Linked DNA regions of Homo sapiens: all the other regions are linked to region 1. Evidence: promoter capture Hi-C in human tissues and cell types (Jung and others, 2019). All regions are on one chromosome and are shown on one strand. Each heading gives the region's core, a stretch centred on a gene start or on the middle of the fragment in contact. The rest is flanking DNA. Distances are from core to core; before and after follow the strand shown.

Region 1 (5,417 bases), core at 1-2,500:
CAGGTCCACCAGGTTGAGGGCGCTGCGCGCGAAGCGCCTCAGGTCGGGCGTGGAGGCTAGGCGCAGCAGGTACTCGAGCGTGAAGAAGCCCATGCACAGCATCTCCACGTGCTCCAGGATGGGCCGCAGGTCTGGGCCGCCCTCGCCCTGCCCCGAGTGCTGCTGCATCTCCTCCACGGTGTTGAGCGCCAGCGCCACCACGGAGACGAGCACGAAGGTGCTGGAGGCCACCCCGATGGCCTTGGCGGCCACCGAGGAGAATGGCTTCTCCATGAGGTTCCAGAGGCGGCGCCGCTGCGGGCCGTAGAAGCGCATGTCGCGGAAGAGTTCCTCCGCCTCCTCGACCTGCGCCTGCGCGCGCAGCTCGTGCTGGATCTTGAGCCGTTCGCTCAGCTCGTCGCGCCGCTCCTCGAAGCAGATGCGGCAGCAGCGTGGCGTGTACTTGAGCCGCACGCCCCAGTAGCCCAGCTCCTCCAGGAAGCGGCGCGGACACAGCCCGTCGAGCACCAGCAGCACCCCGGACAGGTAGAAATTGTAGACCAGCTGGAAGACGGCCGGGTCGCGGTCGAAGAAGTATTCGTCTGTCTGCTCCTCGTAGTCGTCGCACAGGCTTAGCTGGCGGCTGCGGCTGGTGGAGGTGGCCAGGCGACCTAGGCGCGTCTTGGGGAAGCCGGCCAGCTCGCAGTAGTCCAGCTGGTAGCTGTGGCCACCCACGTTCACATTCAGCGTGGACAGCAGGGCCGGAGGGTCGCTGGGGCCCTCGGGCTTGGCGGTGGTGACCTCCCCTGCCTGCTGGTCCTCTTCTGCCAGGTCGTCCTTCCACTGGTCCTCCTCCTCGCCGTCTTCGTCTTCCTCGATGTAGTAGTTATAGTTGCCCTCTGTCCAGCCGTGGATGCTGGCCTGGGAGCCGGAACGGGCACCCAGGGAGCAAATGCTCCTGCGGTGTTGGCTGCCCTCATTCTCCGTCGTGTTCCAGGGCCTGTAGCTCCAGGACCGTCTCCTCTCACTCTGTTTGAGCATGGCTGCGGAAAGTGGACGCCTAGCTTTTTCCTCCTGGCTGTGGTAGGGGTCCCTCACCTGCTCACTGCCTCTAGGAGGATGGATCACGTGGCCTGCACTGTCTTAGAGAGGCCAGCCCGGACCAGCACAGCTAGGGGCTCAGACATTGCCACCGGAGCTGCCCCTTCTCAGGTCCTGGGCAGGCCAGCCCAGCCTGCAGGGTCTGAACGCAGTCAGCTGTTGACTGCTCTAATCTTGCTGATTTGGAAGAAGCAAGTGTTAGGAGGGATTTAGAACCTCTTAGCCCATTTCCTCCCCCACTCCCTTGACCCTGTGAGGTAGAGGATGATTATGTGGTCTTAAATCTCTAGGTAATCAGAAGAAGGCAGAGATTATTGCTAATAAAAATGTCGGTCAACCTCGCTCTTAGGAAGCGCTCAGTGTATGTGTGCTGAGATGAAATCAACTGAATTAGCTATAGAATACGGATGCCTGTGTCTTCAGCTTCATGGTTGAGATGGTAGCCTCTGCCCTAGGTAAACTCACCATTAGCAGGGATGACACATAGCAACGGAACAAAGCTGACTTCATGACAAGTCAGTTTCCCTCTCAGCGTAACTCTTCGTTTAGAGCATATAAGATCTAAAGCCATCTCCTTCTTGTCCATTCACATGATCACATTTTTTTTTTTTTTTCAAATGGATTCTCCCTGGGGCACTGTTCAGGTCCAGTCGGATCTTTGAGTCAGCTTCAGCTTCTCTCTCTCCTTTTTATCTCCTCCCTTTCTCTTAAAGGATAGAGACATGTTTCAAGGTAGAATTCCAGGAATGGTAGGAAGACGTTTTTAGGGCCTCACAACCCTGCTCAGCAATATTAGGCCATATTTAAAGGGAGCCTGACTTCCACCCAAAAAAAAAGGGTCTTCTTCATCCTTCAAAACATCACTTTAAAAAAAAAAAAAAAACCCTTTTCATGATTAAGGCAATGTGCAAATGCTGGATATGCAAACACGATGGAGACACAGTTGTAGCAGTCAAAGAACTCTTGGTTTTGTTGGGGATATAAACATGCAAGGATAACAAAAGATGCAATAAATACTGGGGAGGAGAGAAGCAGGAGGGATTTGCTTTGAGCAGGGAATTGGTTTTTCTATTCAATTTATTTTGCATAGCTAATACACATTCATGATAAAAAATTGTAAAGGTAAAAAGACATATTACAGTAGAAAGTTTATGTCTTTCCCACCCATAATTTCAAGACATCAGGTGTACCTCAAGGAAGCAACCACTATTACTACCTTTTGGCTATCCTTCCAGAAATATTCTAAACATATACAAGCAAAAATATACCTACCTTTATCCATCATCTCAGTACCTCTTCATTATTAATAGAAATCATAGAATGCTATATACTTTGCCTTTTCCAGTTGGCCATATAAAAGATGTTTTCATATTTGAACACAAATATCTACCTTATTTTAAAAATAGCCACTGAGCACTTTCCTAATGACAGACATTCAGAATGTTTCTACCTTTGCTTTTATGGACAATTATGCAACAAATACCTTATATGTACATCACTTTACACATGTTCAAGATATATAAAGGATAAATTCTTAGAGGTGAGATTACTAGGTCAAAGATTGCACATTTGTAATTTTGATTAGTAGTGCTACATTTCTCTCCATAAAAGTTTTACCAATTTACAATTCATCAACGGTTGAAAATGTCTTATACTTTTTTAACTCTACCAATTTTGTAAGTGAAAAATGATGTGTGGGTTAATTTGTATTTCTTATAAATGTGATTGAACACTTTTTCATGTGATTAAAAGCTATTTCTTTTTCTGGGAACTGTCTGTTCATCGACTTTGCCTATATTTTCCACTGAGTTGTTTACATTTTTCTTATTGATTTGTAGGAGAGCTTAATACATTATGAAAAAAGACCCTTTACTTGTGATATGGATTGCACCTTTTTTCGGTTTTAACTTTAATATTTTTTCCATGTAAAAATCTTTATTTTATGATTTCTGGGTGTTGTGTAGTATTAGAAAAGGCTTCACCTCTCTGTAAATAAAACTTTTCTTTTTATAGTTTTAACATCAGAAATTAATTTTGATGTAAAGAGTGAAGTAGGGGCCTAACTTTATTTTCCAAGCTTTTATCCAGATGTTTCAACACATTAATTGCATAATCCATCATTTCCTCACTGATTTGTGGTACTATCTTTGTCACTTAGTTGAGTTTTAACTATGCTTCAAAGTTGTTGAGACGGGTAACGTTATGAGGTCTGCATCTGCTAGTGTGGCATTCACTGATGTTGTTTAGCTTGCAATAGGCCTCAGACCTACAAGCTTATGGTAAAGCTTCTTACCAGGCTTAGCCTTTAAGTTCCTAAATGTATTTCTAGCGTTCCCTTTTTGGTATACAATATTGATGTTGTTTTGCTAGCCACACACTTAATTGCTTTCCAAGTCTATCTTTTCTTTATATTGTGCTGAGTACTGCCATAATAGATTTTGCATGTTGCATAAATTCACCTTTTCTCTTCAGAACCAATTATACTATTATAAAAAGTAAAGACTGGGTGTGGTGGCTCACGCCTGTAATCCTAGCACTTTGGGAGGCCGAGGTAGGTGGATCACTCGAGGTAAGGAGTTTGAGACCAGCCTGGCCAACTTGGTGAAACCCCATCTCTACTAAAAATACAAAAATTAGCCGGGCTGGGCATGTTGGCGGGTGCCTGTAATCCCAGTTACTCAGGAGGCTGACACACAAGAATTGTTTGAACCCGGGAGACAGAAGTTGCAGTGAGCTGAGATCATGCTGCTATACTCCAGCCTGGGTGACAGAGTGAGACTTGGTCTCGACAAAAAAAAAAAAAGTAAAAATATCACCATTTTCATATTTTTATCTTCTTCTTTTTCAATTGAAATAATATACTACTTTTTTTTTTTTTTTTTGAGACAGAGTCTCACTGTGTTGCCCAGGCTGGAGTGCAGTGGCGTGATCTCGGCTCACTGCAATCTCCGCCTCCTGGGTTCAAGCAATTCTTCTGCTTCAGCCTCCTGACTAGCTGGGATTACAGGCGCCCGCCAGCATGCCTGGCTAATTTTTGTAATTTTAGTAGAGATGGGGTTTTGTCATGTTGGCCAGGCTGGTCCCGAACTCCTGATCTCAGGTGATCCACCCACCTTGGTCTCCCAAAATGCTGGGATTACAGGTGTAAGCCACCATGCCCAACCCATGTACTACCACTTATCCAGACTTTCAACACTTAAAAACTATGGAGTTAGTAATGTTTGTATGGCATCTAGAAGCTAAGCACAAACACCACATCCATACAGTAGATTGAGGAATATTACCTGGGTAGACCCCACTTAAGTGACTCTTACACCCCCGGTATGAGTAGTTGCTTGGATTTTGCCCTGATGTATATGCATGTAAGTGCAACATTAGATGAGTATACACATATATAGACTGTTTCTAATAAAACTGTCCAACAATGGTTGACCCATAATGTGGAAAACACCCTCTTTCTTTTTTTTAATTTAATTTTACCTTAAGTTCCAGGATACAAGTGCAGAACGTGTAGGATTGTTACATGGGTATACATGTGCCATGGTGGTTTGCTGCACCTATCAACCCGTCATCTAAGTTTTAAGCCCTGCATGCATTAGCTATTTGTCCTAATGCTCTCCCTCCCCTCACCCCTCATTCTGACTGGCCACGGTGTGTGTCGTTCCCCTCCCTGTGTCCATGTGTTCTCATTGTTCAGCTCCCAATTATGAGTGAGAACATGTGGTGTTTGGTTTTCTATTCCTGTCTTAGGTTGCTAAGGATGATGGCTTCCAGCTTCATCCATGTCCCTGCAAAGGACATAATCTTATTCCTTTTTATGGCTGCATAGTATTCCATGGGAAAGCACCCTCTTTCTGAATGCATTTAAGAATCAGTCGAGCAGGCTGCAAGGGAGACCTGCAGAGGGTGGAAAGTAGGACTGGATGACCTTCATGTCCCCTTCTTGTCTTTAAATTACTAAGATTCTAAGTCTTTGCTTGATAATCCATTTATCTTGAATTCTCTTCCAACCTTCTTCTTAAATCTTTGGCTTCCAAAAGTCACCTCAGACATTGTCTTTCTCTTTCAGTGATTCTTGTCTGACATCGCTGTGTTTCTCCAAGGTGAATCAGCTGTCCCATCTCAGTGTCCTCAATTAAGATAGTATATACTACTAGCTTACAACATGAGACACTTGTTTTAACTAAGAGTGATTAAATTTTTTTCTCTAAAAGTTACATAAGTGCATTGTAGAAAAATTTAAAAATAGAAACCAGAATACCAACAATTGATACAATATTAAATAGTAAATAGAATGTCCAGATACTGTTCTGTTAATGTTTACACCAATCCTATAG
Region 2 (5,417 bases), core at 2,004-4,503, 440 kb after region 1:
GATAAAACACATCTCCTTTGTCTCTACCAGAAAAGGAAAGGAACTGAAATTAAGAGAAGGGTGAGATTGAAGTGTGGCGCCAAGATTGAAAGGAGAAAGAGGTTGAGGGATAGTAAGAGAGGTTGGAGAAGAGAGTAAAAGCCCGCTTACCCGATTTAAAATTGCTGAGATGTTCCTTGGGCTGGTCGGTCTGAGGACCCGAGGTCGTAGGTGGATCTTTCTCATGGAGCAAAAAGCAGGAGGACAGGGGATTGATCTCCCAAGGGAGGTCCCCTGATCCGAGTCACGGCACGAAACTTCACTCGCGTCCGTGTGAAGAGACCACCAAACAGGCTTTGTGTGAGCAATGAAGCTTTTAATCACCTGGGTGCAGGCGGGCTGAGTCCGAAAAGAGAGTGAAGGGAGATAGGAGTGGGGCCGTTTTATAAGATTTGGGTAAGCAAAGGAAAATTACAGTCAAAGGGGGGTTGTTCTCTGGCGGGCAGGAGTAGGGGTCACAAGGTGCTCAGTGGGGGAGATTTTTGAGCCAGGATGAGCCAGGAAACGGAATTTCACAAGGTAATGTCATCAGTTAAGGCAGGAACAGGCCATTTAAATTTCACTTCTTTTGTGATTCTTCAGTTACTTCAAGCCGTCTGGATGTATATGTGCAGGTCACGGGGGATATGATGGCTTAGCTTGGGCTCAGAGGCCTGACAGTGACTATTTGGATGTTTCACAAATTCCACCTACAGGATAAGGGCCGAAAGTGGTGTGGATAATTCAAGCATTGGAAATTAACCTTTGTCTCAGACGGCATACAGCAGACGCTAGATCTGTATTTAAAGGCAGAGTATCTGGGAAGAAATAAAAACACTGACCCTACGCTCAGAAACCTATGCCTTAAGATGTTCAGCAAATATTTTTTCAAAAGCACTTCGTTGTTTTCCTAGTTTATAGTCTGTTCCCCCACTTTCAAACTAAACTACAAGATATAAATTTTCTGTCCTATAACTTTCTAAGATGCAATAAGCTGGCTCTGGGTCACTCCATCGAGTCTCCCCAAAAATGCACATTTCACTGTGGTTCCCATTCTCTCTCACCGGCCCTTGTGGCTTCTCAGCGTCCAGCCTCATTGTGCCAACAGGGCTGAAGCCTAATGGGAAAATTAGGTGACCAAGGGGTCCAAAAACATGGCAGGTTATGTGGTTGCCATTTACTTTAAGCAGAATTAAATCCCTCCTGAACAGAAGGCAAAGGTAAAGCAAGTCACGGGCTAACAATCTAGGGTTTCAGTTTTTTCATTTTTAACATGGGGGTCATTAGCTACTGACCCTCCCTTGTGGGTGTGATAAGCATTCAGCAGCCCCCAGATAGAGATGAGGCCAAGTTTCCTTCTACCCCTCACTCTCCCATACGTACACAGACCTCAGGTAACTAGGGCCCCTTCCTTTTTTGGCTTTATGCATAGTCAGCAAAGTTGGGTGTGGAAAGGGTGGGTCATATGCATAAGGAATAAATTTGAAGGAGCCAGCAGATGCCCCAGTGCACAGCCAGGGTCAGTCCTGCATATAACAAAATGAAGTCCTTCACTACATCATTCCCCGGCACAGGCAATGGGGCGAATGTGTAATTATTCATTCTTGCAAAAATGAAGTGAGAAGAGCAATGATTCAGCACCCAGGTAGCTTCTGAATTTTCAAATGATTCTTCTTCAAGGGCCACCCACTTTTTAAATATAATAATTTTCTCCTGTTTTGAGAGACCTACCCAGAATCACTTCCAAGTTCTGGGTTATTCATCAGGTAAATCCTTCTCTATCTCTCTCCCACCTCTCCTCTAATCTCCCTTTTGCTCTGAAGGAAACCCCCAATTGCCCTGAAGCATTTTCTTCTTTGAATACCCCCTTTCCTTTAAGCTCTTCCTCAAAATCCTTCTTCCTTTTTTTTTAACAGTAGATGTGGATGCCCTAATATACATGGAACCCAAAAGAATGGGAACTAGTGCTATTACCTTAAAGGACAAGAGGTGTAAGATCTTTCTAGGGCAGCACAGAAAAGAAACGGGAGGAACAATTTACTTTCCATGTTAGTATTCCTGGATTCCTAACCTTTCACACGTGCAGCCATCACTGTGGGAACACTGAGGACTTCAGGAATGGCTCTTGACAGGAGCCCAGCAGTGCCAACACACTCTTACTACTGTAAATGTTAAATAACAAGAAAACAATTCGGTTTCTGAGATGCACTCAGTGGGTGTTTATTCTTTGCAATCATTATTGGCATCTGAAGTCCTGGGTTGAGGAATTAGAATCAACAGTTCTTTTTCCATTTCAATTTTTGCAACATGGTGGGAATAATTTCTTTTTCGGTTTGCTTTGAATTATAGGCAAAAGCTCCCAAGTGCGTGGTTGAGATGTTACCAAGGTGTTCACATTCAAATTTCCTAGTAGGAGGTACTCGGTGAGGTTCTGGAATTGATAAAGCTTTTCAGTCTGGCACTACTTGACCTCTGGCAGTAGATCCATCCAGTCCCATAAAAGCTAGAGTCTGAGGGGGCAAAGTCAAGAGCCCAGGTCAGGATCAGCCATTTCAGAAGGATACACAATGCTGCCTCGACAATAACAGCAGCCTCTTTTTGGTCAATTAATGTTCTCCCAATGGTCCATGAGTGCAAATGACTCCAGATAGTGATGGTTCAGCAGAATAAATCAGAAAAGCTTCCTATTCTCCCTGTTATTAGAAGGGTATGACTTTCAAAGTAATAAAGCACATCATTTTCATTTTATCTCCCCATGAAAGAGCTTGGACCAAACATCCCTAACGCACAGCTCCCAAAATGCAAATTATTTTCAGCTAAGCTTCAGAGTTGATTTTCTTTTTCCTGATGGCCTCCTTTCTTGATTAAATCCTGGAGCTTCGTTTGATACATTAAGTCAGGACTAGAGTCCCTGAAAACAAACCAGATTTAAAATACCATTCATTATCTAGGAAGCTGTTTCTTTCCCTGATTTGTTTGCTGAAAAGGAGAGTGAAAGATGAGAGGAGAACCAAAGAAAAAAAAGCAGGACAATGGAGAGAAGAAGGAGATGAAAGGAGAAAGGGAGATGACAAATACAGTAAATAGATTTGAAAACAGATGTGCAATGAATGAAAATCTGTCCAATTATTTTTCTCAATTAAAAAGTGTCTCATCCTGAATATCTGTATCAGATTCTTACCTATATTCATGTATTATTTTCTGCACAGAGAATACTGCATAAACATCTCAGCAATGGATTTACTTGATCAGAAATTATACTAATGACGATGCTTCAATACAAGATTTCTAAAAATGTGGAGAATTTTTGGTAGTTTTTGAAACAAAGGATTTAAAAAGTAACAAACAGCGTTCAGCATCATGATCATTGTCAGGGTCATCATTCGTTATTGTCGTCAGTGCCACTGTTGATATTAGTAAACCTGCAGCATAACTATTTTGATCCCTAAAGCAAGCAAGAGTTTGAATTAGGTTGAAATTACCATCTCAGGATTGGGTTTAATGCTTTTTCTGAATATACAGAGAAACTTAGGTGGCATTTAACAAATGAGTTAATTTCTTCCTTTAACGATGCTTAATTAGCAAACATCAGGCAATTGGAATGAGTAGGCAGCTTCTACAGTAGAGAACAAGGACTTAAAAAGCCAGTAATTCCCAGCACTGTAGAAATCACTAAAAGGATGTTGAGGGTTTTTTTTCCAATTTAGTCTTGTTGAAAACAATATGAAATAAACATTTTCTCACTTTCAAGAAACCACCTCTATCCTCTAGACCTTGATCATGGTGGGGAGGATGACAAGTAGCTTGGGACTTGGTGCTTATTAAAGGCTTGACAGACATGAGCTGAATCAAAATCTGAACAAGAAGAACAAATAGTTTTAAGGGACCCCATCTACATCACAGCTCCTGCCCCATCACCACAATCTCAAAAAAACTTCTCTCCTATAATCCCACTATTAGCAAAGCATTCTTTTAATTTAACAAGCTTCTATTTAAAAAGTGAAAACAAGTCATTGGGAAGGTTAACGTAATTGGCAGTAAGGAGACGTTCATCGTTCCTCCAGCAGTGTAACTTAGTTCTCAAGTGTTTGTTTCTTGCTAACGTAGAGAGAAGTTCTTGCAGGCCGGGCGCGGTGGCTCACGCCTGTAATCCCAGCACCTGGGGAGGCCGAGGCGGGTGGATCACAAGGTCAGGAGATCGAGACCATCCTGGCTAACACGGTGAAACCCCGTCTCTATTAAATATACAAAAAAAAAAATTAGCCGGGCGTGGTGGCGGGCGCCTGTAGTCCCAGCTACTCAGGAGGCTGAGGCAGGAGAATGGCGTGAACCCGGGAGGCGGAGCTTGCAGGGAGCCGAGATCGCGCCACCGCACTCCAGCCTGGGTGACAGAGGGAGACTCCGTCTCAAAAAAAAAAAAAAAAAAAAAAAAAAAAAAAAAAAAAAAAAAAAAAAAATTCTTGCAGTGAAGAAGTAGGATTTCTACTAGCATTAGACCTGGGGAGTTTTTAGGACTCACAGTAGAAGGAAAGATTTGGGCATGGCACAGAGGTGGAGGCTCTGGAAACTAGAGCACATAGCCTACCTGGGGGAAAGAAGGAGGGAGAGAATCTGCCTCAAATCATATTCGGGTTGGTTTCCACACACCCAGGCTGATGCCCATCTGCCAATTTAGTCCCACCCCCAGCCACTCAAGGCCCAATCAGGTGAGAGGAAGGTGGAGCTTAAGTATCTCCCCCCTCCCCCGACAACCTTCCCGGGCTGTTTCTTTGGCTGCCAGCCTGACTTACACACAATTCACCAGTTCTGATGTCTCATTTCAGAAGCCTGAACTTCCTGTTTTCTACCAGCATGTCTCCGTTCTCATGTGCACTATGTTTTGTTTTGTTTTTGTACACTATGCTTTTAAACCTCAATTATTGGTCCCATGCCAAAGTTACTTTTCCAATAAACTATTATTAAACATTCTTTAGGACGGGTTCCTACCATCCTCTTTTCTTCCCATACTTGACTCTAGCACTCCACTAACCGTCAACGATCCTCCTTAGTAGAATTTTTAACCTGGCTTTCCATGGATTTTTCTAACATCTACTTTTCTTCGATGCTAAACTTTCCTGGATCTTTGGGGCCTTTTGTGTCTTTGAGCATACCAGTACTGTGGCTGCAGGTGAACATGCCCCATAGGTGATGAGCAGTTCACCCAGGCCTCTTTGGCCTCACCTAGTGTCAGTGGCCTTGATGGCTCACAATGCTTGCCTCGTGTAGGAGCGTGGGGCAGCTGGGGAGGAGGAGGATGTGCATTGTCTATTGCCAGATTCTGCCTCCTTCTCTGAGTCTGGGAAAGAAGAGTAGGAAACTTCGAAGAGTGGCTAAAGCCCCACCTAGGGAGTCAGAGAGAC
Region 3 (5,417 bases), core at 1,901-4,400, 310 kb after region 1:
TCTTGATGAATTTTTCCCTTTACCATTACATAATGGCATTCTTTGTCCCTTTTTACTGTTTTTTTACTTAAAATCTATTTGGTCTGATATAAGTATCAGTCTTATATAAGTATAGCTACCCTTGCCCTGTTTTGGTTTCCATTTGTGTTGGAATATCTTTTTTCATTGCTTCACTTCCAGATTATGTGTGTTCTTGCTAGTAAAGTGAGTCTCTTGTATGCAATATATAGGTAGTTTGTTCTTTCCTTTTATTCATTCAGCCACTCTGTGGAAAATTTGGAAATTTTAATGTGTTGGAAAATTTAATCTATTTACATTCAAGGTAGTTATTGATAGGTAAGACCTTGCTACTGCCATTTTGTAATTTGTTTTCTGGTTGTTTGGTAGATCTTTTGTTTCTCTTTTCCTCTCTTGCTGTCTTCCCTTGTCGTTTGATTATTTTCTGTGGTGCTATGCTTTGAACACTTTCCTTTTATATTTAGTGCAACTACTACAGGTTTTTGCTTTGTGTTTACGATGAGGCTTCCAGAAAATATATTATACTTATAACAGGCTATTTAAGGCTGATAACAACTTAACTTTAATCATACAAAAATGCTACACTTTTACTGCCTCCCCCACTTTTATGATTTAAGTGTCAATATGTATATACTTTTGTAATTTGTATCTTTTAACCATTTATTGTAGCTACTGTTGTTTTTGATAGTTTTGTTTTGCAACCCTGGTAATAGAGATAAAATTGCTTTATATATCACCCTTACAGTATTAGTGTTCTGAATATCACTTTGGACTTTTGTTTCAGGCTAAAGGAATCCCTTTAACTATTCCTGTAAGACAGGTCTAATGGTGATGAACTGACATCGTTTCTGTTTATCTGGGAAAGTTTTTATTTCTTCCTCATTTCTGAAGGACAGCTTTTCCAGGCAAAGTAATCTTAGTTGGTAGTTTTTTTTCCTTCTGCACTTTGTATATGTCATCCCACTCTCTCCTGGCTTGCAAGATTTCTGCTGAGAAATCTGCTGATAGATGTATTGAGACTCCCTTGAATCTGATATTTTTCTTATCTCTTATTGCTTTCAGAATTTTTGTCTTTGATTTTTGATAATTTAATTATGATGTGTCTTGGTGAACTTCCCTTTGGGTTGAATTTAATTAGAGACCTCTGAGCTTCCTTTACCTGAATGTTGTCATCTTTCCCCAGATATGGGAAAATTTCAGCCACTGTTTACTTAAATATGCTTTCTGGGCTCTGTTTTCTCTTTTCTCCTTCTGAAAATCTTAAGCAAATGTTCATTCTTTTGATAGTGACCCATAATTCACATAGGCTTTTTTTTTTCATTATTTCTGCTCTTTTGATTGTATAATTTCAAATGTCCTGCCTTCAAGCTCACAATAATATCTTCTGCTGAATCAAGTCTGCTGTTGAAGCTTCTATTAATTTTTTTTAGTTCAGTTGTTGTATTTTTTATCTCTAGGATTCTATTTGATTTTTAAAAATGATTCTGTTTCTTTTTAAAACTTCTCACTTTTCTTCATAAATTGTTTTTCAAATTGTATTTAATTTTCTATCGATATTTTCTTTTAGTTCACAAAGCTTCTTTAAGATAATCATTCTAAATTCCTTGTCAGTCATTTTATAGATCTCCATTTATTCAGGGTCCATTATTAGAGATTTATTAGTTGCTTTTTTTGGTGTGATATTTCTCTGGATCTTTGTAAACCTTACACTAGTGTCTACACATTTGAAGAAATGGCTACCTCTTCCAGTCTTTGCTAATTTTCTTCAGTAGCAATAAACCTTCACTGTTTAGTCTAGCCTGGGATTCTGGATGGCCCAGCTGGTGGCAAGTCCTGGCAGGCAGGCCTTGCTGTCAGATTCTCTAGCTGGGCTGTACTGCTGACCGCTTTGAGGTCAAATGGAAATGCTGGCTGTGCTCTAGAGTTTGATGAGATCACTGGCTGGACTCTGTAGTTAGGCAGAGCTATTAGCTAAGTTTTGTGATTGCCTCTGAGCAGAGTTACAGATTGTCTTCTCTCACTAGGTAATACTGCTGTTTGGAATCTGTAGATGAGCAAAGCCATGTGCTAAGCTCTGAGATTAGGCAAGATCTCAAGATCACTTCTCAGCTGGGGACAGTGGTTCACGCCTATAATCCCAGCAGTTTGGGAGGCTGAGGGAGGCAGATCACCTGAGGTCAGGGGTTTAAGACCAGCCTGGCCAACATGGTGAAATTCCATTTCTATGAAAATATAAAAATTAACCAGGCATGATGGCAGGTGCCTGTAATCCCAGCTACTTGGGAGGCTGAGGTGGGAAAATTGCTTGGACCTGGGAGGTGGAGGTTGCAGTGAGCTGAGATTGCACCACTGCACCCCAGTGTGGGTGACAGAGTGAGACTCCATCAAAAAAAAAAAAAAATGCTCTCCAGATTCCTCCTCTCTAGGCAGGGCATCTCTGAAAGAAAGGGAGCAGCCCCAGTCAGGGGCTTATAGATAAAACTCCCATCTCCCTGGGACAGAGCACCTGGAGGAAGGGATGGCTGTGGGTAGAGCTTCAGCAGACTTAAACATTCCTGCCTGCCAGCTCTGAAGACAGCAGCGGTTCTCCCAGCACAGTGCTTGAACTCTGCTAAGGGACAGACTGCCTCCTCAAGTGGGTCCCTGACCCCCATGCCTCCTGATGGGGAGACACCTCCCAGCAGAGGTCAACAGACACCTCATACAGGAGCGCTCCAGCTGGTATCTGGCGGGTGACCTCTGGGACGAAGCTTCCAGAGGAAGGAACAGGCAGCAATCTTTGCTATTCTGCAGCCTCTTCTGGTGATACCCAGGCAAACAGGTTCTGGAGTGGACCCCCAGAAAACTCCAGCAGACCTGCAAAGAGGGGCCTGACTGCTAGGAGAAAAACTAACAATAGAAAGCAATAGCATCAACATCAACAAAAAGGATGACCATGCAAAAACTCCATCCAAAGGTCACCAAGAGCAAAAACCAAAGGTAGATAAATCCACAAAGATGAGGAGAAAACAGTGCAAAAAGCCTGAAAATGCCAAAAACCATAATGCCTCTTCTTCTCCAAAGGATCACAACTCTTTGCCAGCAAGGGAACAAAACTAGACAGAGAATGAGTTTGATGAATTGACAGAAATAGGCTCCAGAATGTGGGTAATAACAAACTCCTTCAAGCTAAAGGAGCATGTTGTAACCCAATGCAAGTAAGCTAACAATCCTGATAAAAGGTTAGAGGAATTGCTAACTAGAATAACCAGTTTAGAAAAGGACATAAGTGACCTGATGGAACTGAAAAACACAGCACGAAAACTTCATGAAGCATACACAAGTATCAATAGCCAAATCGATCAAACAGTAGATCGATTGAAGATACCAGAGACTGAAGATCAACTTAAAGTATGAAGACAAGATTAGAGAAAAAAGAATGAAAAGAAATGAACAAAGCCTCCAAGAAATATAGGACTATGTGAAAAGACCAAACCTACAATTGATTGGTGTACCTGAAAGTGACAAGGAGAATAGAAACAAGTTGGAAAACACACTTCAGGATTTTATGCAGGAGAACTTCCCAAACCTAGCAAGACAGACCAACATTCAAATTCAGGAAAAGCAACCCCAAGACATAATTAACAGATTCACAAAGGTTGAAATAAAGGAGAAAATGTTAAGGACAGCCAGAGAGAAAGGTTGGGTTACCCACAAAGGGAAGCCCATCAGACTAACAGTGGATCTCTCTGCAGAAACCCTCAAGCCAGAAGAAAGTGGGGGCCAATATTCAACATTCTTAAAGAAAAGAATGTTCAACCCAGAATTTGATATCCAGCCAAACTAAGCTTCATAAGTGATGGGAAATAAAATTCTTTATGGACGAGCAAATGCTGAGAGATTTTGTCACCACTAGGCCTGCCTTACAAGAGCTTTTAAAGGAAGTACTAAATATAGAAAGGAACAACCAGTACCAGCCACTGCAAAAACAAACCAAAATGTAAAGACCGTCGACACTATGAAGAAATTGCATCAACTAATGGGCAAAATAACCAGCTAGCATCATAATGACAGGATCAAATTCATGTATAACAATATTAATGTTAAATGTAAGTGGGCTAAATGCCCCCATTAAAAGGGACACACTGGCAAATTTGATAAAGAGTCAAGACCCATCGGTTTGCTGTATTCAGGAGAACCAGCTCACGTGCAAAGACACACATAGGCTCAAAATAAAGGGATGGAGGAAGATTTACCAAGCAAATGGAAAGAAGAAAAAGCAGGGGTTGCAATCCTAGTCTCTGATAAACAGACTTTAAATCAACAAAAATCAAAAAAGACGAAGAAGGGCATTATATAATGGTAAAGGGATCAATGTAACAAGAAGAGGTAACTATCCTAAATATATATGCACCCAATACAGGAGCACCCAGATTCATAAAGCAAGTTCTTAGAGACCTGCAAAGAGACTTAGACTCCCACACAATCTTAGTGGGAAACTTTAACACCTCACTGTCAATATTAGACAGATCAATGAGAGAGAAAATTAACAAGGATATTCAGGACTTCAACTCAGCTCTGGACCAAGTGGACCTAATAGACATCTATAGAACTCTCCACCGCAAATCAACAGAATATACATTCTTCTCAGCACCACATCACACTTATTCTAAAATTGACCACATAATTGGAAATAAAACACTCCTCAGCAAATGAAAAAGAATGAAAATCATAACAAACAGTCTCTCACACCACAGTGCAATCAAATTAGAACTCAGGATTAAGAAACTCACTCAAAACCGCACAACTACATAGAAACTGAACAACCTGCTCCTGAATGACTACTGGGTAAATAACATATTTAAGGCAGAAACAAATAAGTTTTTTGAAACCAATGAGAACAAAGGCACAATGTACCAGCATCTCTGGAACACAGATAAGCAGTGTTTAGAGGGAAATTTATAGCACTAAATGCCCACAAGAGAAAGCAGAAAAGATCTAAAATCGACACCCTAACATCACAATTAAAAGAGCTAGAGAAGCAAGAGCAAACAATTCAAAAGCTAGCAGAAGACAAGAAATAACTAATATCAGAGCAGAACTGAAGGAGACACAGACACGGAAATCCCTTTTAAAAATCAATGAATCCAGCAGCTGGTTTTTTGAAAACAATAACAAAGTGTATAGACCAACAGCCAGAATAATAAAGAAGAAAAGAGAGAAGAATCAAATAGACACAATAAAAAATGATAAAGGGGATATCACCACTGATCCTACAGAAATACAAACTACTATCAGAGAATACTATAAACACCTCTATGCAAATAAACTAGAAAATCTAGAAGAAATGGATAAATTCCTGGACACATACACCCTCCCAAGACTAAACCAGGAAGAAGTTGAATCCCTGAATAGACCAA
Region 4 (5,417 bases), core at 1,676-4,175, 270 kb after region 1:
AAGAGAAGTGGGTGATTTTGCCTGCTGTCATCTCCAGAGCAGTGGTTCAGAGATTTTGCCAGATGAAGAGGCAAGTCAAAATAACATAAGATGCAGAAACTTCCCCCGAAGAAATTGAATTTATTTGGAACAAAGTGCGGGTAAGTTCAATCCTAAAGGAACTCTCAAGGACCATGGAGATTTTGGTAATAAGCAATTAAGGAGAGGCTGGTAGCTCCATGAGAGCAACAAGCAAAACTATAAGCCAGCTGTATTACCAGACAAAGCAGGTGAAGAGATAACTCTAAGATGAGTCCTTCTGTGGTCAGAGAAACCCTCAAAGCCTGGCCCTGCCAAGACACCCAAATTTAATTGGATCAGAGTGTGAAGCAATTTATGCACCAGCACATTATTTTTAAAAAATGGAGTCATCAGCCAGCAATTAATGAAACTTAACAGCTGGATGTGGTGCTACAGAGACATACAGTTTAGGAGACAGATAAGAAATAGAGACAAAGAGAGCCTGCCAAAACCGGTCATCCCAGGGTGACTATGCCCATGCCCAAGACTGAACCCTCATAAGAATGACATCAGAGGCTTCACACTGCATGGGAAATGGACTTAATAAAATACCCTACCCAAGTTACTAAATAAATAAGCAAGTAACATGAACAAGCACAGGAAACGGAGGAAAATCACTATCTAAAGCTGCTACAATACAGAAATGGCCTTACAAGAAATAGCAAAGGAAGTTCTTCAGGCTGAAAGCAAGTGACCACAGTAATTTAAATCTACATAAAGAAACCAAGCACTAAGAGAGGTGATTATGTAATTATGAAAGATAGCATAAATGCATATTTCTTCTCCTTTCTCTTAACTTACTTAAAAAAATATGGTATAAAGCAATATGTGTGTAATTATATTGCAGACCTATAACATGTAGAAATATAATATACTTGATCATAACAGCAGAAAGGAGGTAGGTGGACAAAGCTGTATTATAGCAAGGAAAGGACACCATATGCTCACTGAAAACTATAGGAAAAGATGAACAAGAAATAGCAAATTAGCTGGTTAATATTACAACCCCCCCAAAATATATGCTTGCTTTCTTTTTTTTTTATTATACTTTAAGTTTTAGGGTACATGTGCACAACGTGCAGGTTAGTTACATATGTATACATGTGCCACGTTGGTGTCCTGCACCCATTAACTCGTCATTTAACATTAGGTATATCTCCTAATGCTATCCCTCCCCCCTCCCCCCACCCCACAACAGGCCCTGGTGTGTGATGTTCCCCTTCTTGTGTCCATGTGTTCTCATTGTTCAATTCCCACCTATGAGTGAGAACATGCGGTGTTTGGTTTTTTGCCCTTGCGATAGTTTGCTGAGAATGATGGTTTCCAGCTTCATCCATGTCCCTATAAAGGACATGAACTCATCATTTGTTATGGCTGCATAGTATTCCATGGTGTACATGTGCCACATTTTCTTAATCCAGTCTATCATTGTTGGACATTTGGCTTAGTTCTAAGTCTTTGCTATTGTGAATAGTGCCACAGTAAACATACGTGTGCATGTGTCTTTATAGCAGTATGATTTATAATCCTTTCGGTATATACCCAGTAATGGGATGGCTGGGTCAAATGGTATTTCTAGTTCTAGATCCCTAAGGAAGCGCCACACTGACTTCCACAATGGTTGAACTAGTTTACAGTCCCACCAACAGTGTAAAAGTGTTCCTATTTCTCCACATCCTCTCCAGCACCTGTTGTTTCCTGACTTTTTAATGATAGCCTTTCTAACTGGTGTGAGATGGTATCTCATTGTGGTTTTGATTTGCATTTCTCTGATGGCCAGTGATGATGAGCATTTTTTCATGTGTCTTTTGGCTGCATAAATGTCTTCTTTTGAGAAGTGTCTGTTCATATACTTTGCCCACTTTTTGATGGGGTTGTTTGATTTTTTCTTGTAAATTTATTTGAGCTCATTGTGGATTCTGGATATTAGCCCTTTGTCAGATGAGTAGATTGCAAATATTTTCTCCCATTCGTGGTAGGTTGCCTATTCACTCTGATGGTAGTTTCTTTTGCTGTGCAGAAGCTCTTTAGTTTAATTAGATCCCATTTGTCAATTTTGGCTTTTGTTGCCATTGCTTTTGGTGTTTTAGACATGAAGTTCTTGCCCATGCCTGTGTCCTGAATGGTATTGCCTAGATTTTCTTCTAGGGCTTTTATGGTTTCAGGTCTAGCATTTAAGTATTTAATCCATCTTGAATTAATTTTTGTATAAGGAAGGGATCCAGTTTCAGCTTTCTACATATGGCTAGCCAGTATTCCCAGCACCATTTATTAAATAGGGAATTGTATCCCCATTTCTTGTTTTTGTCAGGTTTGTCAAAGATCAGATGGTTGTAGATAAGCAGCATTATTTCTGAGGGCTCTGTTCTGTTCCATTGGTCTATATCTCTGTTTTGGTACCAGTACCATGCTGTTTTGGTTACTGTAGCCTTGTAGTATAGTTTGAAGTCAGGTAGCGCAATGCTTCCAGCTTTATTCTTTTGGCTTAGGATTGACTTGGCCATGCAGGCTCTTTTTTGGTTCCATATGAACTTTAAAGTAGTTTTTTCCAATTCTGTGAAGAAAGTCATTGGTAGCTTGATGGGGATGGCATCGAATCTACAAATTACCTTGGGCAGTATGGCCATTTTCACGATATTGATTCTTCCTACCCATGAGCATGGAATGTTCTTCCATTTGTTTGTATCCTCTTTTATTTCATTGAGCAGTGGTTTGTAGTTCTCCTTGAAGAGGTCCTTCACATCCCCTGTAAGTTGGATTCCTGGGTATTTTATTCTCTTTGAAGCAATTGCGAATGGGAGTTCACTCATGATTTGGCTCTCTGTGTGTCTGTTATTGGTGTATAAGAATGCTTGTGATTTTTGCACATTGATTTTATATCCTGAGACTTTGCTGAAGTTGCCTATCAGCTCAAGGAGATTTTGGGCTGAGACAATGGGGTTTTCTAGATATACAATCATGTCATCTGCAAACAGGGACAATTTGACTTCCTCTTTTCCTAATTGAAAAAAAAATACCCTTTATTTCCTTCTCCTGCCTGATTGCCCTGGCCAGAACTTCCAACACTATGTTGAATAGGAGTGGTGAGAGAGGGCATCCCTGTCTTGTGCCCATTTTCAAAGGGAATGCTTCCAGTTTTTGCCCATTCAGTATGATATTGGCTGTGGGTTTGTCATAGATACCTCTTATTATTTTGAGATACGTACCATCAATACCTAATTTATTGAGAGTTTTTAGCATGAAGCGTTGTTGAATTTTGTCAAAGGCCTTTTCTGCATCTATTGAGATAATCATATGGTTTTTGTCGTTGGTTCTGTTTATATGCTGGATTATTTTTATTGATTTGCATATGTTGAACCAGCCTTGCAGCCCAGGGATGAAGCCCACTTGATCATGGTGGATAAGCTTTTTGATGTGCTGCTGGATTCGGTTTGCCAGTATTTTATTGAAGATTTTTGCATCGAAACAACAATATCCCTGATGAACACATCAGGGATATTGGTCTAAAATTCTCTTTTTTTGTTGTGTCTCTGCCAGGCTTTGGTATCAGGATGATGCTGGCCTCATAAAATGAGTTAGGGAGGATTCCTTCTTTTTCTATTGATTGGAATAGTTTCAGAAGGAATGGTACCAGCTCCTCCTTGTACCTCTGGTAGAATTTGGCTGTGAATCCATCTGGTCCTGGACTTTTTTTGGTTGGTAAGCTACTAATTATTGCCTCAATTTCAGAGCCTGTTATTGCTCTATTCAGAGATTCAACTTCTTGCTGGTTTAGTCTTGGGAGGGTGTATGTGTCGAGGAATTTATCTATTTCTTCTAGATTTTCTAGTTTACTTGCATAGAGGTGTTTATAGTATTCTCTGATGGTAGTTTGTATTTCTGTGGGATCGGTGGTGATATCCCCTTTATCATTTTTTATTGCGTCTATTTGATTCTTCTCTTTTCTTCTTTATTAGTCTTGCTAGCAGTCTATCAATTTTGTTGATCTTTTCAAAAAACCAGCTCCTAGATTCATTGAATTTTTGAAGGGTTTTTTTGTCTCTATTTCCTTCAGTTCTGCTCTGATCTTAGTTATTTCTTGCTTTCTGCTAGTTTTTGAATGTGCTTGCTCTTGCTTCTCTGGTTTTTTTAATTGTGATGTTAGGGTTTCAATTTTAGATCTTTCCTGCTTTCTCTTGTTGGCATTTAGTGCTTTGAATGCGTCCCAGAGATTCTGGTATGTTTTGTCTTTGTTCTCATTGGTTTCAAAGAACATCTTTATTTCTGCCTTCATTTCGTTATGTACCCAGTAGTCATTCAGGAGCAGGTTGTTCAGTTTCCATGTAGTTGAGCAGTTTGCAGTGAGTTTCTTAATCCTGAGTTCTAGTTTGATTGCACTGTGGTCTGAGAGATAGTTTGCTATAATTTCTGTTCTTTTACATTTGCTGAGGAGTGCTTTACTTCCAACTATGTGGTCAATTTTTGATTAGGTGCGGTGTGGTGCTGTGAAGAATGTATATTCTGTTGATATGCTTGCTTTCTTTTCCTCTCTCAGCTCCTTTAAAAGACATAAAATTATATATTAAGTAATAATTAACAACCCCATTAAAAAGTGGGCATAGGACATGAACAGACACTTCTCAAAAGAAGACATTTATGCAGCCAAAAAACATATGAAACAAGCTCAGCGTCACTGATTGTTAGAGAAATGCAAATCAAAACCACAGTGAGATACCATCTCATGTCAGTCAGAATGGCAGTTATTGAAAAATCAAGAAGCAACAAAAGCTCTCCAGGCCATGAAGGGATAGGAATGCTTTTACACTGTTGGTGGAAATGTAAATTAGTTCAATCATTGTGGAAGACAGTGTGGCAATTCCTCAAAGACCTAGAACCAGAAATATCATTTGACTTAGCAATCCCATTACTGGGTATATACCCAAAGAAATATAAATTATTCTGTTATGAAAATATATGGACATGTATATTCATTGCACTATTCACAATGAAAAAGACATGGAATCTACCTAAATGCCCATCAGTAATAGACTGAATAAAGAAAATGTGGTACACATACACCATGGAATACCACGCAGCCATACAAAGGAAAAAGATCATGTCCTTTCTAGGGACATGAATGGAGCTGGAAGCCATTATCTTAAGCAAACTAACACAGGAACAGAAAACCAAACACCACATGTTCTCACTCATAAGTGGAAGCTGAACAATGAGAACACGTGGACACAGGGAGAGTAACAACACACACTGGGGCCTGTTGGAGGAGGTGGCAGGGGAAGGGAGAGCATCAGGAAAAATAGCTAACGCATGCTGGCCTTAATACTTAGGTGATGGGTTAATACTTAGATGATGGGCAGCAA

What was found. Contacts are between HindIII fragments. The study calls those that stand out against the background at their distance.
Region 2: a fragment that was not itself captured here is called in contact with the fragment with the promoter of KCNV2 in region 1 in 2 of the 25 tissues and cell types used here (aorta and dorsolateral prefrontal cortex).
Region 3: a contact is called between a fragment that was not itself captured here and the fragment with the promoter of KCNV2 in region 1, in 3 of the 25 tissues and cell types used here (H1 embryonic stem cells, heart right ventricle and lymphoblastoid cells).
Region 4: a contact is called between a fragment that was not itself captured here and the fragment with the promoter of KCNV2 in region 1, in 1 of the 25 tissues and cell types used here (lymphoblastoid cells).

The regions. Positions count from the first base shown.
Region 1 is chr9:2,713,343-2,718,759 of GRCh38, reverse strand. It overlaps KCNV2 (potassium voltage-gated channel modifier subfamily V member 2), which reads right to left and starts at 1,250. Exons shown (of 2, transcript NM_133497.4): 1 at 1-1,250. The coding sequence starts at 1,020. The HindIII fragment of the contact is 9,328 bases long and covers 1-5,375 here.
Region 2 is chr9:2,270,987-2,276,403 of GRCh38, reverse strand. No RefSeq gene overlaps it. Among named protein-coding and RNA genes, the nearest start is that of SMARCA2, 260 kb to the right of the region's middle. The HindIII fragment of the contact is 3,689 bases long and covers 1,409-5,097 here.
Region 3 is chr9:2,400,395-2,405,811 of GRCh38, reverse strand. All of the region lies in intron 5 of LOC101930053 (a long non-coding RNA gene), which reads left to right. Among named protein-coding and RNA genes, the nearest start is that of VLDLR, 220 kb to the left of the region's middle. The HindIII fragment of the contact is 3,278 bases long and covers 1,512-4,789 here.
Region 4 is chr9:2,443,483-2,448,899 of GRCh38, reverse strand. All of the region lies in intron 3 of LOC101930053 (a long non-coding RNA gene), which reads left to right. Among named protein-coding and RNA genes, the nearest start is that of VLDLR, 180 kb to the left of the region's middle. The HindIII fragment of the contact is 8,299 bases long and covers 1-5,417 here.